4 separate regions of the Homo sapiens genome follow, and regions 1, 3 and 4 are each linked to region 2. The links are contacts of gene promoters, found by promoter capture Hi-C in blood cells and fetal thymus (Javierre and others, 2016). All regions are on one chromosome and are shown on one strand. Each heading gives the region's core, a stretch centred on a gene start or on the middle of the fragment in contact. The rest is flanking DNA. Distances are from core to core; before and after follow the strand shown.

Region 1 (3,939 bases), core at 1,002-3,501, 300 kb after region 2:
TGCTAGGGTGTGCATTACAAGTAAAGGTCAAGGCCAAAGACTTCATGTGCATTCCCCGCACACTGCTGAAGCATGTTTGAATTCTCGTTCTTTCATTCCACTGCCAGCTCCCATGGGCAGATCCAGCTCCTTTGTGTAGGAGCCATAGTCACAGCTTCAGAGGTCTCTTTCCCTCCCGACTGCTCCAACTGCTGTCAGCTTTATCCTCTTCAAACACCACCTTCACTGTGTCATTTTCTTTTCAGAAATCTCCTATGGCTTTTCATTGCTTTAATGATACAGTTAGAAATCCTGGCCAGGTGTGGTGGCTCATGTATGTAATCTCAGCATTTTGGGAGGCTGAGGCAGGAGGATCCCTCAAGGCCAGGAGTTCAAGACCACCCTTGGCAACACAGTGAGACCCCTGTTTCTACAAAAAAAAAAATTAGTCGGGCATGGTGGCACATGCCTGCAGTCCCAGCTACATGGGAGGCTAAGGTGGAAGGATTGCCTGAGCCTCAGAGGTTGAGGCTGCAGTGAGCCATAATCTTGCCACTGTACTCCAGTATGAATAACAAAACAAGACTGTGTCATATGAAAAAAAAGAACTCCTTTACTTAATATTTTAGGCCCCTGAAAATCTACCCTCAACTTACCTTTCTAGTCATAGAGCCCTCTTTTTAATTGTGAGAACTCTCATCCCTGATGAGATTTATGAGTGAGGGACTTAGAGCCTGGGGTCATCATAGGTGTGAATTCTACTCTAGAATCAACCACTGTGTGACATGAATGCATTGCCTCTCTCTCCTAGGCTGAGTGTCCTGAGCTATACATGAGAGCTGTGAGATGGTTGTGAGGATTCCACTGGGTGCAGCATTAAAGGGGCTCGGAACAATGTCTGAAGATGCCAATGCTAGAGAAATGGTGGTTGAATCTGAATCTAGGCAGCTTCTGTAGGCATAACTCAGGCTCTTTCTGGTCTGAATTCTTTGCTTGCTGGGCTTTGTATCTTGAGACCTCTCTTTCTTCCCACTGGTCAGAATCCTGAACATCCTTCAAGGCTGGGCTGAAAACTTCCCTCCTCTGTGCCGACTTTTCTGACTACCTGAATCCTCAGTGATCAGTCCCACCTCTCAATTCTTACTGTCTTCTGTTATGTCTTTGATAATTTCTTCCTCTCTCTCTGTCTCTTCTGGTTTCTCTTTTTTTGTATTAGTTCTATTAGTCAGACACTGGATCCACAGATTGGTCTTCTAGGTCTCCTATTTTTTTCTATTACCTTTTTTATCTCTTATTTTGAGATCTGTTTTTTGGGAAGTCATCTGGATTTTATTCTCCAACCTTGTAATGAATTTTCCTATTTTTGCAGTCATTAAAAAATTTCCAATAGCTCTTTTTTTTGGTATCTGATTTTTCCTCTTGATATAGCATCTTATTTTTGTTTCATGGGTCTAATTTCTAATTAGAGGATTTTATTTTGTGTTCTATAGCTTAACTTATCTTTGTTTTGGTTGGAGTCATTTAAAAAACTTGTCTCTATTCTGAAATAACTGCACAGTCTTCATCCTCGTTCATTTAAGTCGAAGTGCGAGGCAATGAAAAATCGTGCATGTGAACAAGATCTGTCAGGTAGATGGATTTGCGTCTGGGAGATTGAGGACATCCTAAGTGCCAGAATGCAGAGATGTTTCCAGTGGGGCTATCAATTTGTTTCAAGGAGGACCCTTTGATGCTTAGACTGGGGAGTAAGGTGGGGTAGGCCAGGGAGATGTCTGGTTTCTAGTGTGCTGAGAGAGTGCAGTGGGACAGGGCAGCCCATGTCCACACCTTCATTTCACTGCCTTCATTATTCTGTTTCTGAGTGCTGAAACCTATCAGAGTCTGGCAAGGTAGATGGGCGTATCGCCTCCCATAAGGACTCTAGGCCATGGTTCCTCTGATCTACTTCATCTGTTTTCATCCATCTTCTAGTCATTTGTTGAATTTCTATTCAGTGACAGCCCTTCTTTTACTTTCTTTATCGTTGTGCATTAAATCCTTTTAAATTGTCTTGCTGTCATTTTAAAGAGAACCCAGCTGAAGATGGAGTTAAACAGCCTTCCATTTAGAGCTGGAATTCCCCTGTTCTATCCTATTTAATGAGCCATTCAAATCAAGATAGTTTTCTGTTGATGGGACTGGCTTTTCAAAAAGGCACAACTAGATTATAATCCAGAATGGGGAGGAAATAATGCCTTATTTTTTGTTTTGTGGAGGCTAGCCCAGTATCTTTTATTTGGTAGGTGCTCAATTAATGTCTATCAATTGAGTTTGCTTTAACATTTAAGCTCTACCATTTTTTTTGTTTCACATTTTTGTCTGCTCTCACAAATGTGATTTCTCTTAGAACAGACTCAAACATCTGGAGAGCCATTTGTATCTCCATTTTTATGGCCTTTTATATTTTCAGTCTTGACTATGCACTTCTACAGGATTTGAAAGAAATGAGAAAATACAGTAAGCACCCTATGTGGAGAGATTCATATTCCATAACTTGTCTTCAAAGTTATAGTCCTCTTGACTCACTTTACTTGCATGTAAAAACATAACTTGGGCATTTTATTATCCCTTATTGCTTGCTTCTCATTTTGTTGCTGTTCAATAGGGAAAGTAGGTTGTTTCCTATTGTAATTTCCAGAGTTCTTTGAGTTAAGGGGTGATTTTTCCTCCCTTCCCCATGGCTGTGAACACGTGGATGTGCACACTTGCACGTGTCCCTTACCCCCGTGCATATCTCAGTATACTCTGGACATTTTTCTCTTCAAAAGAAAACCAAGTTTCTGATTTCAGGTCATCCAAATAGATACCATCAGGCAGAGCAGCGTGACATGGTTCTTAAGTCCCATAGGTCACGTTTTTGGTAAATAGCTGTGTCCTGTAACTGTCATTCCCGTCATGTCTAGCTTACTCACCAGTGAATGCATGACATTTTCTTGGCCTTGGAATGTTCCATCTCAATTAAAACTAGAGGGAAAAAAAGCCATTCTTCATACTGTAAATATGAGAAGAGTACATCATGGAGACTTTTCTCATCAAACTGTAGAGGAAGAGCCTGCCCTGCTGGGGCCTCTTGGGAGACATACCTGGTTCAGGATGGAACCAGCTCAGGAGGACTGGAAGAGTCCTTTTAGTTTGTATTGTGTATTGAGAAAATTTATCGTAACATCTTTTCCTTTTGTACTGCCGTAGTCAATAAAACTATATAATTAATTAATTCACACCTATTCAACACATGTTTTGCACAGAGTAAAATTTAGCAAAATACGCAATACAATAAACATAGAATTAGACAACATAATAGAAGGGATATATATATATATTCCTTCTACAAATATAAATTGTAATATATATTTAAATTGTTATATATATATATATATATATATATATATATATATATATATATATTTAGGGCTAAGAAAGACATGACTTTGAATAGTAACCCAGTACCATTTTCTATCTATCTATCTATCTATCTATCTATCTATCATCTATTTATCATCTATTCTATCATAGTGATAAATATACATAACATAAAGTTTACCATTTTAACCTTTTTTTGAGTGTACAATTTAGTGGCAGTAAATACATTCTCAATGTTATGCAATCATTGCCACTATCCGTTTCAAGAACTTTGGCATCACCCCAAACTGAAACTCCACACCCGTTAAACACTAACTCACCATTCCTCCCTCCCCACAGCTCCTAGTAGCCTCTATTCTACTTCTCTTCTCCATTAATTTGCCTATTCTAGGTACCTCAGTGGAATAATGCAATATTTGTCCTTTTGTGTTTGGCTTATTTCGTTTAGCATACACACTTTGAAGGTTTATTCATGTTGTAGCTTACATCAGAATTTCATTCCTTTTTAAGGCCTAAAAATAATACATTTTCTGGGTGCTGTGGCTCATACCTATATTCCCA
Region 2 (4,524 bases), core at 347-2,846:
TTTGAGTTTTTCAACTATGTGGTAATTAATATTTATAAATAAAGTGCAGTGGTTGCTCCCAAGGACTAGGCACTATTTAGAATCTAGCCATCCATTTAGCACATCGTAATTGAAACCCTTCAGTGTCTTGTACTGCTCTTGGGGTTCAAACTTGAACCCTAACTCAGTCTGCAAGGGTCTGGACCTTGCCCACCATTTTTGCCTGATGTCACCCCAATCTCACCCTTGTCCCCCAAGCTCTCACTCTTTGAGCTCTTCTTGGAGTTCAGCCACAGGACCTTTGCATATGTGCTTCCCTTTGCCCGGATGACTCCTGGGTTAACTAGATTTGGCTACAGCTCAAGTAAGGGCACTTCTTCAGACACTTCCCTGACCGTGCAGCAGTCTTGGTTTTGGAATCTTCTAGTCATTCACAGTAGGGTCTTACTTGTAATTATACACCAAATTGTGTAGTTGTTTTGCTTATGTCTGTTTCCCCCTGTACTCTGAGAACAAGACAATGAATAGCTTGTGTCAGGCCTCTGAGCCAAAGCTCAGCCATTATAACCTCTGTGACCTGCATGTACACATCCAGGTGGCCTGCAGGAGCCAAGAAGCCTGGAGCAGCCAAAAAAAACGCAAAGAAGTAAAACAGCCAGTTCCTGCCTTAACTGATTAACCAACATTACAACATTTTACCATTGTGACTTGTCCCTGCCCTACCTTAGCCGATCAATCGACTTTGTGACATTCTTCTTCTGGACAATGAGTCTTATGATCTCCCCACCCTGTACCTTGTGACCCCTTCCTCTGCTAACAATAGATAACCACCTTCTACTGTAATTTTCCATTACCTAGACAACTCCTATAAAGCAACCCCTTCCCCATCTCCCTTCGCTGACTCTTTTTCGGACTCAGCTGACTTGCACCTAAGTGAATAAACAGCCTTGTTGCTCACACAATGCCTGTTGGTGGTCTCTTCACACGGATGCGCTTGACAGCTTGGTTATCCAAGCGCCCGGATGGTGCTCAGCAAGTGGCAAGTGCTCAATAAATGTGGGTTGAATGAATGAATGGGTGAAAGATTCCCGGAGCTCCTGTAGGGAACTGAGGACCCAAGAGTGAGGAAGCCAGGTCCCCTTCCCCATCCGCGGGGAAATTGGAGGTTGCGGGGGGACACAGATCAATAAACTAAGAAACAAGTCTCGCTCATCTCTCCAGCTGGTGTGCGATTCCTCAAACTAACCCTTCCCCAATCACCGAGGGTTCGAATGAAGGGGTGGGATGCTGAAGGCAAGCGCTGGGTGATCGATCAGCTGAACAATGGTCAGATCCTGGTGGAGATCCCAGGTCCTCAGCCAGGCGGCAGGAGCCCGCGCTGCCCGGCTCGGGCTGGCTGCCAGTTGACCCCTCTCCCCGTCCCTCGTGTCCCACGCGGCGCACTCTCGCCAACGCCCGGCGCGCCAGCCAATGCGCCCGGGCCGCTGTAGCTGCTCCGGGGCCAGGGCGCTGGGCCAGCTCTGGCGCCCGGCGCTTGTGATTGGCTGCCCCCAGCCTCAGCCCAGCGCGCCCTCCCACCCAGGGCGCAGTTGGGTCCCCGCTCGCTGCCTAGCCTCTGCCTTTTCCTCTCCGCCCAGCCAGTGCCCAGCGCGGGGCCCGGATCCGGCCGGGCACTTCCCACAGGCGCCGCAGAGCAGCGTGGGTGCAGGCTGCAGTGGCTGGCGCCGTCCTCGCCCGGCCAGGCCATGAAGGTAGAGTTTGCACCGCTCAACATCCAGCTGGCGCGGCGGCTGCAGACGGTGGCCGTGCTGCAGTGGGTCCTGAAATACCTGCTGCTCGGTAAGGACCCCGCCCCCCGGGCCGCGGGGCTTGGGCTCCATATCCTCCCTCGGGACGGTCCGGATTCCAGGACCTGCATAGAACCTTCCAACCCTCGTTCCCCTGTCGGCCAGAGCAGGCAGGTCAAAGAGGGCATTTGGAGCTAACGTGGACTCTGGTTTCCTCACGAGAACCTCATCGCTAACGACTGTTTAATTTTATTTTCTCCTGCGTTACTTTTTTAAATTGAGGTGCACCTTGCCTACAATAAAAGGCGCAGTTATACGGATACAGCTCGATGACTTTTGGCGACTGTATCTACCAAAATGTAACCATGACCCCATCGAACGCATGAGCACTTTAACCCCTCAAAAGTTGGCAAACTCGTTTCTCGAACTGTTGATTCATAGATGGCAAAGTAATGCCTCAGTAGTTAAAACCTTGTTCCTTCTCCCTCTTTGTCTCCCCACCCTCCTGACAAAGAGCAGTGTTCCCTTTCCCGTTTTGGAGATTTCCTGGATGCATAGCAGTACCTTTCTGTAAAGAAGGCTGCACCACTCATTGCATTTGGTTGAGCGGTTTCTCTCTGGAAATAGTTTGACTCAGTAGCGTGTGTGTTCCAGTTGGTTCCCAAGTTGAGCCCATGAAACATACACGAGCCGAATCATTAGATGGGGCAAAAACGTGGGTGGTTTTTCTTTTTGTTTTTTGTTTTTTCCTTCATATTTGTTCTGCTCTTGAAGTAAATAGGGGTGATGTGGGAGGAGGGAGGAATTTGGGGGAGACCCTTCTATTGAAACATAAACTCTTCTGAAGACTAAGATCATGTGTATGCTGTAAGATCATGGATTGTACAGCGTTGGGGTGGTAATAATAGTAATAAGCCCATTGCATTGGAGAGTTTTACACTTTTAAAACTGCTTTTACATTTCGAAAGCCTGAATCAGTGGTTCTCAACCCTGGCTCTAGATGAGAATCACTGGAGAAGCTTCTAAAAAGTGCAGATGCCCAGGCTCCATCCTGGAATTTGTTTATTATTATTATTATTATTATTATTATTATTATTATCTTTGAGACGGAGTTTCACTCTTGTTGCCCACGCTGGAGTGCAGTGGCGCCATCTCGGCTCACCACAACCTCCGCCTCCCGGGTTCAAGTAATTCTTCTGCCTCAGCCTGCCGAGTAGCTGGGGTTACAGGCATGTGCCACCACATCTGGCTAATTTTGTCTTTTTAGTAGAGACGGGGTTTCTCCATGTTGGTCAGGGTGGTCTCGAACTCCCAATCTCAGGTGATCCGCCTGTCTCAGCCTCCCAAAGTGCTGGGATTACAGGCGTGAGCCACCGCGCCCGGCTCATCCCTGGAATTTCTAAGTCATTTGTTTCAGAATGAAGTCTGTACACCTTTTTTTTTTTCCTTTTTCCTCTTAAGAACTCTCCGAGTGACTCTCCTGTGCTGCTAGGTAGAATTTACCAAAAAAAAAAAAAAATGTAATTCAAAGTGTTAACTCATTAAGTCCTCACAGACTACACCGTGAGGCAGGGTTGCTCTGGATCAAAGCACCATGGAGATAACAACACACGACCTTATCTAGCGCTTGGTATGTGCCAGGTGCTGTTCTAAGCAACATCCACGATTAACTAGCAATCTTCACAACATCCCTGTGAGGTAAGGACTATTCCTACACTCCTGGTACAGATGAGGGAACTAAGAGATGAAGTAAATTGCTCAAGGCGATGCAGCTAGCAGGACGTGGTAGAGCTGGTTTCAAACCCAAGTATTCTGCCCAAAGTGTCTGCTTTAACCACTAAACTGCTCTCTTAAATGGCCTGAACTTGGAGTCCGACTTCCTAACCGATCATTCAACACATCTCTGATAGCCACTGTTCTTTTCTTTCATGGCACTTATCATTGCTTGTATCTGTGTATGGCTGTGGTGACTTCAGAAAGTTCTCTATGGCTGTCTTAGTCTACAAGCTTAGTGAGGAAACACACAGTATATGTCTGGCCCATGGAAGATATACACGAATACTTGAGATATACACAAATACTTGAGATATACACAAATACTTGTTGAATGGCTGTTTCTGGTCTATCACCCAGAATAGGAATTATGCACCCACCAGATCCCTAGAGTATTAACTCATGTAATCCTCACAGCAACCTGGTGAGGGAGGACTACCCGTTACCCTCATTTTACCAATGAAGGAACTAGGAGATAAAGTGAGTTACTCAAGATCACATGGCCCAGTAGTGGAAAGTCGAGACACATGTGACCGCATGTGAGTGGATTAGTGACGAGGACATGGCAGATGCTCAATGACCTGTGTCTAATTTGAATCAAACTACAGTGGTTCTAGATCCAATTCACCTCAATGTTTTTGTTTCACACATTTGACATTAGTGTTAGCAGGAGCATATTTTGTATTATATATCTTGGAAATTATATTGTGGGAAATTTCAAACATACAGAAACTAGAGAGAAGAGTATGAATTCCCATATACCCATGACCTAGGTTTATAATTATTTAATAATTTGCCATATATGTTTTATCCATTATTTTGCAAAAATATTTTAAAACAAATCACTTTTTTTGTATAATTTTTTTTTAAGTTTTAGGTTCAGGAGTACATGTGCAGGTTTGTTATGTAGGTAAATTGATCATCATGGGGATTGTACAGATTATTTCATCACCACAATAATTGGCATAGTACCCAGTAGGTAGCT
Region 3 (4,417 bases), core at 724-3,223, 280 kb after region 2:
CCAACGCGCTGCCTAGCCCTGCCACTTTGTCAACCCCATGGCCATATTCTGGGCCCTGTTATCGCTCAGAAGGCCCTTGTCTGGAATCTGGGAAAAGGAGGATGTTGAAGACTTAAAAGTCCTAATGCCTTTAATGGGGGCCTGGAAGGATGGGGCTTCAGGCCTGGCGGGAAAGGAATGGTGTTGTGTGGGAAGGTGCTCACATATAAAACATCCAGCTCTAACAACCCAGCAATGTGCTGTCCTCAAAGCTCCCAACCCCGCTGTGAGTCACCCCATCTGAGGACCTCCATGAGTGGCCAGGGCACAGTCCCTTATTCTGCTAGATGCTCTGCCTGCCCTGTATAATACCTCTCTGCTCAGCCTTAGCACTAACGCCATCCTCACTCCAGTCCTCTCTTGGTTTGAATGTTTTGGATGTCTTGAGAGCATTGGGGCAAGAACTCCGAGAATTTTTTTTCTGTTTTCTTTTTTTTTTTTTTGAGACAGTGTCTCACTCTGTGGCCGAGACTGGAGTACAGTGGTACGATCTCAGCTCACTACAACCTCCATCTCCCGGTTCAAGTGATTCTCCTGCCTCAGCCTCCTGAGTAGCTGGGATTACAGGCACCTGCCACCACACCCAGCTAATGTTATATTTTTAGTAGAGACGGGATTTCACCATGTTAGCTAGGCTGTTCTCGAACTCCGGACCTCAGGTGATCCACCCGCCTTGGCCTCCCAAAGTGCTGGGATTACAGGCGTGAGCCACCGCTCCCGGCCTTAGAATTCTTTTAAACGTTTCCACAAATGTAAGAAAAGATGGCTTTTTGGTAGCCATGGTCAAAAATAGCCACCCAAATCTGTTTTTACCCTGTTCAGCACATCAGCAGTTCACCTCATGTAGGAAAGTGAGATGCACCAGAGGCTTAAAAAAGTTCCTATGGTTTGCCCACTAATTCCACATCTAGGAATCTGACCTTAGAAAATACTCAAGAGACGCGGGTTGAGATTTCTTCAGGAAGACCTTCATTGTGAAGTTGTTTATAGCAATCCATCAATTGGAAACAAGTGCACTAAAGTAAGATATCAGGTAAATATTAGACACTATCCACTTGATCATAGAGGCACAAAAAATGTTTATACAGCTTTTTATATTGTGAGGAGGACTTCATACTATGAATTTTATGGGGGAAGAAAGTAGGAATCAAAATTTAGTAGGCACTTTATGTCATAATGTGTGTGTGTGTGTGTTGTGTATATATTTCATAGAGAAAAGTCTAGAAAGAAATGTGCAATCATTGGCCAAAAATTGTAATTGACATTTTTCTCTTCATACTTTCAAAATTCTTTACATTGGCTTTACTTACTCCTACAATAAAAAGTCAAGCTTGTGTAAAGAAGCCTAGCTTAAAATATGGACCATAAGCTTTAAAATTTTTTATCTTAGCAAAATTATCAATTGTTAAGAAAAAATATTTGAAGCTATCTTAAGTGTTCTAGTAAAGAAGAAACTAGAAACCCTTTTATTTTCTAATCCCATTCATATTTATATATTTTTTGAAAGCTCCCTTCAACTATACCCTTGTTTATCAATCTTGTTCTGTTTGTTCCAGCTTTATAACGTGATATATGGGTATCTGTGCCTGTCTTCTGTATGTGCATTTTTTTTCTGGTAATTCTGCCCATGTTCTGCATATCTTTATTTTCATGTTCTTAATCCTTTTATTTACTGCTTCATGACTCAATTTTAATTTTTCTGTAACTGAATTATGTAGGACCTTGGCCCCTAAATAGCTCTTTTCAAGAAGATTTTCTTCTTGTGTGTCCAATAGATTTGCTATGCCCTTTCTCCTCCTCCTGTTAAATGTAAAACTTTATTAGTATCAATATCTGATATAGTTTGGTTGTGTCCCCACCCAAATCTCATCTTGAATTGTATCTCCTACAATTCCCACATGTTGCGGGAGGGACCTGGTGGGAGATCATTGAATCATGGGGGCAGTTCCCCCATACTGTTATCGTGATAGTGAATAAGTCTCACGAGATCTGATGATTTATAAGGGGTTTCCCCTTTCACTTGGCTCTCATTCTCTCTTGCCTCCCACCATATAAGATGTGCCTTTTGCCTTCCACCATGATTGTGAGGCCTCCCTAGCCATGTGGAACTGAGAGTCCATGAAACTTACTTTTCTTTGTAAATTACCCAGTCTCCAGTATGTCTTTATCAGCAGCGTGAAAATGGACTAATACAATATCATATTGTATATTTTTCTGTAGATCATCCATTTTAAAAAGAGGAGATGATTTGCTAATTTTTAAAAACAGCTCCTATAAGAAAAGGGAAATTCAGAAAGATGCTTTTCTTCTATCTTTTCCCTGAAAGTTGCCCAGTTCTTCTTTGCCTTTTGGTTGTTTTATTGGCTGATTCTAGCTCTGGGTCTGGTGTCAGTGTTGACCTGTGATCCCTCATCAGGGCCAGTGCTGAGACCTGTGGATGATTGCACCAGACGTCCTTTACAGACCAGGCTTGAGTCTCCCTGCTATTGTGATTTTTTTTTAAGCTTATTTGGAATGTTAGACAAACAGGTGTAAAAATACCATATTAGTTTTTGAAAGATTTGCTTATTTAGCATAACATGAATTTATGCTCATTATAAAATTTCTAGTAATTTGGAGATATAGACTAAAAATGGAAATCCTCCCTATATACACAGGGTTTTTAGAAAACATATAATGAATTAAATTTTGTCTCTCCTCCCAAATGTATATGTTGAAGTCCTGATCTCTAGTACCTCAGAATGTCAGTAAATTTGGAGATAGGGCCTTGAATAAGGTGATTAAGTTAATATGAGGTCATTAATGTGGCCCCTAATCCAATATGACTAGAGTCCTTGCACAAGGAGATCAGGACACAGATCTCCACAGAGTGAAGAGTGTGGGATGCCAACCCAAAAAGAGAGGTCTCAAAAGATACCAGCCCTGCTGACACCTTGATCTTGTCCTTCTAGCCAACAGAATTGTGAGAAAGTGAATTTCTGTTGCTCAAACCACCTAGTCTGTGATTTTGTTATGGCAGCCCTAGCACACTAATACAGACCGCAGTTAGATCCTGGTCTAGATTCTATAACTTGCCTTTTTTATTGTGAGCATACATTGGACATCTTCCTGTGTCAGTACATATATAATGGACCTGATTCATAAATAACCTTGTTAACGGCGAGGCAATATTCCACAGAATGGGTGTATCACAATGTAAACCATTCTCTCATTGTTAGGCACTTAGGTTATTTCAGTTTTTACCATTAGAATCAGTGTGACAACACAAAGCTTTTACTCCCATTTTTGTGCTTAAGAGGAAGCTCATCTACAGGACAGCTTTCTAACAGGAATGGCTAGGTAGATCAAACCTTAGCAGTTTTGTAAACTATCCAATTGTTATTTGGTTTTGAGTGTGTGTGTGTGTGTGTGTGTATGTACATATATATCTCCTGACTTCTCAGATAAATTTAAATTCCTGAGGAATGGGTGTTTTAGTGATTCTTTGTATCCTCCAAGTCTAGTGTCATATGACTTTCTTCTAAGAGATTCTGAGTGAATGTTGGGTATACTATCATTTTCATTAATTAGCCTTTTATCATCAATTAGCTAAAATGTGGGAAAGAAGGGGAAACATGGTGTGTAGTGTGACCCAGGCAGGTCCCGTCCCTCTGAGCCTTTGTAGACACTGTGTTAGTTTTCTTTTCTCCCTTTTTTTGCTTTTTGAAATAAGGTCTTGCTTTGTCACCCAGGCTGGAATGCAGTGGTGTGATCATGGCTCAAGCAATCCTCCTGCCTCAGTGTCCCAAGTAGCTGCGACTACAGGAGCGAACTGCCACATCTGGCTTATTTATTAATTAACTAATTAATTAATTTAATTATTTGTAGAGAAAGGGACTCACTATGCTGCCCAGGCTGGTTTCAAACTCCTGGCCTCAAGTGATCTTCCCGCCTCCACCTCCTAAAGTGCTTGGATTACAGGCGTGAGCCACCGCACCCGGCCCTGTGTTAGGTTTTTTTTTGTCATGGGTCTCTTTTTTCCACCTCCTTCCTTCCTCCTTTCCCTCCCTGCTAATAAACAATAATTTCATATGCCTTCTGAGTCATTTGAGAAATTGTTTTGTTCTACCTTCCGGGAATATGCTAATAATGAGTAAAATAAAAATGGGCAGGAATTTGATGTAAAATCCGAAGGCAGATTTGTGTTTGTATATCTCATCTTCTCTCCTCTGCGGCATTTACAGGAAGCAGCAGGGCTGCGTGGGTGATGGATGTTGCTGTCTGTGACCGTCTGCCGCCCATTCCTCTTCTTTGAATCACCAGCCTATGGGCTGTTCACCATGCAGCTGATGTTCACCAGCTCTGTATCTTCCATCTCCCCAAAGTGGCACGGACACAG
Region 4 (4,411 bases), core at 644-3,143, 260 kb after region 2:
AGGGATTTCAAACTCAAGAACCAGGCAGCTACCTATTTAAATGAGTCAAGTGGGCCCTAATGTAAGACAATGTGATGGGTAAGGATTGATTCTGAGGGAACAGGAGCAGGCATGCCCTCTCTAACAGAGGCCGTCAGTTCTGCTGTACCTGAAATGTGGGCCCATTGTTGCTGGCGATTCCACACTTACATCTAAAATTTCCTGATTTTTTAAGAATGACAATAACTAATTTAAAAAAAAAAAAAAAACCTCAATGTAGGCCAAAAAATACGACTCTACAGGCCTCACGGCCTGTGCTTCACCAATATGTGACTTCTGCTTTTAAGGAATAGCTGGGGATACCTCAGCCTTAGGATAAATAATCATTTTTGGTAATTTAGAAAAATGAAGCAGTGTATTAGCTACTGTTCTCAAATATCCTTTTTTTCATTTAATTCCTAGTGTGGGACTACAATACTGGCAGAGTGGGAGCACCATTAGTTTGCTGTGAAATCAAATTAAAAAACTGGGAGGAAGGTAATAAACTATTTTAACCACAGAGCATTAATTTTTAAAGTATTAAACTTGAAAATTAGTGCTTCACTTTCTTGCTTTAGAATGTAAACACCCATAAGTGCTCATTTTTGTCCTTTGTGATAGACGTGTTTTATCTCGAACTATATGAATGCATTTATTTTTCTTGTTTCAAAGATGTTTCTGAAGAACTATTATTGTTTTCATTTTACTTATTACGTAGATGCAAGTAAGAATTATGGCAAAAACTTGAGAAATGTACTAATAAGTGAATAATGTCAATAAATTAGGAGTGATCATAACTTTATTTTGCAGAAGTAAAATTATAAAATTTATTTTATGAAATTGTGGATTTTTAAATGATTTTTTTCTTTTTTTTTCTGAGGGCTTCAACCTTGTATTATTAGAAGGAAATTTTCACTGCAATTCCATAGAAGTCTGTTTATTCTCATGCCATTTAAAATAATGGTCACTTAAAAATTTATTTGATCCTGTTAAAATATACAAATTATCTGTGTTTTATTGGGATGCACCTTTCCTCTACATTAAGTAAAGATAAAGATTCTGGCCGGGCGCAGTGGCTCACTCCTGTAATCCCAGCACTTTGGGAGGCCAAGACGGGCGGATCATGGGGTCAGGAGTTCGAGACCAGCCTGACCAACATGGTGAAACCGTCTCTACTAAAAATACAAAAATTAGCCAGGCGTGGTGGTGCGTGCCTGTAATTCCAGCTACTCGGGAGGCTGAGGCAGGAGAATCACTTGAACCCGGGAGGTGGAGGTTGCAGTGAGCCAAGATTGCGCCACTGCACTCTAGCCTGGGTGACAGAGCGAAACTCTCATCTCCAAAATAAATAAATAAAGAAAGATTCTAAGGCTTGGATGTCTTTTAGCTATCTTTAGCAGAATTAGTGGGAATATTTAATAAATTTAGGCTTGGAGTCATTTTGAAATTATCTATAAGAATAAATCTTAATATGTAGTAACTCACTTTTTTTTTTTTTTTTTTTTTGACACGGAGTTTTGCTCTTGTTGCCCAGGCTGGAGTGCAGTGTCAATGGTTTCGGCTCACTGCAACCTCCACCTCCTGGGTTCAAGTGATTCTCCTGCCTCAGCCTCCCTAATAGCTGGGATTTCAGGTGTGCGCCACCATGCCCGACTAATTTTTTGTATTTTTAGTAGAGGTGGGGTTTCACCATGTTGGCCAGGCTGACCTCAAACTCCTGACCTCAGGCGATCCACCCTCCTTGGCCTCCCAAAGTGTTGTGATTACAGACATGAGCCACTGGCCCAGCAGTAACTCATTCTTATATAGGGATTTGTTCTATTAATTGCATGACTTAATACTTCTGTCAGTTTATCAATATGATATTTAAGATGTTGCAGAATCTTTCAAATAATTTGTCTCTTGTATTTATAATTTTATACAACAAATGGAAGATGTTGGGTTTTAGAGTTTAATTTTTTTCTCAGAATAGAAGTTTGAAAACATAAATACTTATGGTTTAGCAACTGAGATTTTGTGCCTACTGTTAAATTGATAAACTTTGTTCATTCATAGTGTCTGCCTTTTTTCCTTTGGGAAGTTCTAATTGGATTAAAATAAGATGACTGTTTAGAAACTAGTAGTTTCAAATTTTCATGTGTTGTATTTAACTCAACTATTAACTCAATTATTATTTTATTAGGTGGATACTTTAATACTGATAAGCCACACCCCAGGGGTGAAATTCTTATTGGGGGCCAAAGTGTGACAATGGGGTACTACAAAAATGAAGCAAAAACAAAAGCTGATTTCTTTGAAGATGAAAATGGACAAAGGTGGCTCTGTACTGGGGATATTGGAGAGTTTGAACCCGATGGATGCTTAAAGATTATTGGTAAGTCATCTAATATTTTTTTGAAAATGAATGTTTCTGAAATAGTTTACACAAGAAGCACAATATATTTAGAGGAGGCGCTGAATAATATAAATCTTTATGTAATCTTAGTTTGGGTTGTTGCATCACTCCTGGAATATAAAATATTACGGACTGTGGAATTTATGAGGCCTGACATGTTATGAGTTCTCAAAGATGGTTCAGCAGCAGTGGTATTTTAAATTACTCTTAGATAACCTTCAGTCATTGTTTCCTGCCTGTGTTTCTGACATCTAGAGATTAGTGGATGGAGCTCTCACAGTCTGAACTGCACCCTTGCCTTGCCCTGCCCAGGAGAATAGAGGAAAGCCAGGCAGCTCAAGTACTATGACTCATATGGGTTGAAAAATACCTTATTCTGCTTCTCCTTTTAGGTTCTTTTTTTTTAAAAGTTAATGGCATTTCAGTTAGCCGTGTGTGGTGTCTTTGTCGGGCACCTGTAATCCCAGCTACTTGGGAGGCCGAGGCAGGAGAATGGCATGAACCCGGGAGGCAGAGCTTGCAGCAAGCGGAGATCGCGACACTGCACTCCAACCTGGGCAACAGAGCAAGACTCTGTCTAAAAAAAAAAAAAAAGTTAATGGCATTTCTATCCCTGTCTTGCTAACTAGAAACCTGGGAGGAGACTCAAGACTGTTCTCTTCAGTCAGCTTCCCATGCCTATTTTATATCCCACTAGTTTATTTTATGAGCTATGTCTCAAAATCATACTCTTCTCTCTTTGTCTCTCTTACTTGATCATTGGTCAGGCCTGTACCTTCTGCCACCCTCTCCCAATAATTTCTCTGTTGCCATGTTTACCCCCTTAAACACACCCTCTCACTGCCACCATGTAATTACTAAACATGGATCTTACTGGCCACAACCATTTAATGTCTCCTAGAAGCTCAGTTCAGGGTGCCCCTGTTAACATTGTTCCCCTCTTCACCTTCATCGTCAGTTGTTTTCCTCCTCCTCCTTGATGCAGCTGAAATTAGAGCTGATGTTCTTCTGGCTTTTGCCAGTGTTGTTGCACCTGACCTCTCACTTTTCCCTTAGGACTCGGCTCAAGCAGCTGAGCATAGTGACTCAGGCCTGTAATCCCAGCTACTCGGGAGGCTGAGGTGGGAGTATCACAGGAGCCCAGGAGGCCGTGATTGTGCCACTGCACTCCAGTATGAGCAACAGAGTGAGACCCTGTCTCAAAATCTCAAAACCAACCAACCATCCAACCCTCAGCTCAGGCCTCACTTGCAAGAATTTTTTCCAAATCCCCAGGTTGGAGAGTCTTAACACTTAGCGCTACCATTGTAGTACCAATGTATTGAAGTAATACGTTTTTGCATTATGCATGTCTCCAGATAGGTTGTGAACTTGCAGATGGCATTGAATATCTTCTTCACCTGCCTGGTACTAATGGATACCAGAAATAAACCTGTTCAGAAGAACATACTTGAAGCCCTGCTAATGGAGTCCATTAAGTAGAAGTTAATTGTTTTTCTTTCTTTCTTTTTTTGAGATGTAGTCTTGCTCTGTCGCCCAGGCTGGAGTGCAGTGGCACCATCTCAGCTCACTGCAACCTCTGTCTCCTGGGTTCACGCAATTCTCCTGCCTCAGCCTCCTGAGTAGCTGGGATTACAGGTGTGCACCACCACGCCCAGCTAGTTTTCGTATTTTTAGTAGAGTCGGGGTTTCACCATGTTGGCCAGGCTGGTCTCGAACTCCTGACCTCAAGTGATGTGCCCGCCTCGGCCTCCCGAAGTGCTGGGATTACAGACATGAGCCACTGGACCTGGCCTGTTTTTCTTTTAAAAGCATGGGCCGGGCGCGGTGGCTCACGCCTGTAATCCCAGCACTTTGGGAGGCCGAGGCGGGTGGATCATGAGGTCAGGAGATCGAGACCATCCTGGCTAACAAGGTGAAACCCCGTCTCTACTAAAAATACAAAAAATTAGCCGGGCGCGGTGGCGGGCGCCTGTAGTCCCAGCTACTCGGGAGGCT

What was found. The method cuts DNA at HindIII sites, captures the fragments that hold promoters and counts their contacts. A CHiCAGO score of 5 or more calls a contact.
Region 1: a fragment that was not itself captured here is called in contact with the fragment with the promoter of MOGAT1 in region 2 in 1 of 17 cell types (monocytes); the score reaches 5.1 in monocytes.
Region 3: a contact is called between a fragment that was not itself captured here and the fragment with the promoter of MOGAT1 in region 2, in 6 of 17 cell types (M0 macrophages, neutrophils, M1 macrophages and 3 more). The highest score is 8.8, in M0 macrophages.
Region 4: a fragment that was not itself captured here is called in contact with the fragment with the promoter of MOGAT1 in region 2 in 4 of 17 cell types (fetal thymus, M0 macrophages, neutrophils and 1 more); the score reaches 6.6 in fetal thymus.

What each region holds. Positions count from the first base shown.
Region 1 is chr2:222,966,036-222,969,974 of GRCh38, forward strand. No RefSeq gene overlaps it. Among named protein-coding and RNA genes, the nearest start is that of ACSL3-AS1, 48 kb to the left of the region's middle. The HindIII fragment of the contact is 5,483 bases long and covers 1-3,939 here.
Region 2 is chr2:222,670,062-222,674,585 of GRCh38, forward strand. It overlaps MOGAT1 (monoacylglycerol O-acyltransferase 1), which reads left to right and starts at 1,597. Exons shown (of 6, transcript NM_058165.3): 1 at 1,597-1,818. The coding sequence starts at 1,725. LOC124907985 (a long non-coding RNA gene) reads left to right here. Exons shown (of 2, transcript XR_007088095.1): 2 at 575-941. The HindIII fragment of the contact is 3,409 bases long and covers 1-2,783 here.
Region 3 is chr2:222,946,817-222,951,233 of GRCh38, forward strand. No RefSeq gene overlaps it. Among named protein-coding and RNA genes, the nearest start is that of ACSL3-AS1, 29 kb to the left of the region's middle. The HindIII fragment of the contact is 1,135 bases long and covers 1,407-2,541 here.
Region 4 is chr2:222,928,421-222,932,831 of GRCh38, forward strand. It overlaps ACSL3 (acyl-CoA synthetase long chain family member 3), which reads left to right. Exons shown (of 17, transcript NM_004457.5): 13 at 442-516; 14 at 2,201-2,392. Among named protein-coding and RNA genes, the nearest start is that of ACSL3-AS1, 11 kb to the left of the region's middle. The HindIII fragment of the contact is 6,550 bases long and covers 1-4,411 here.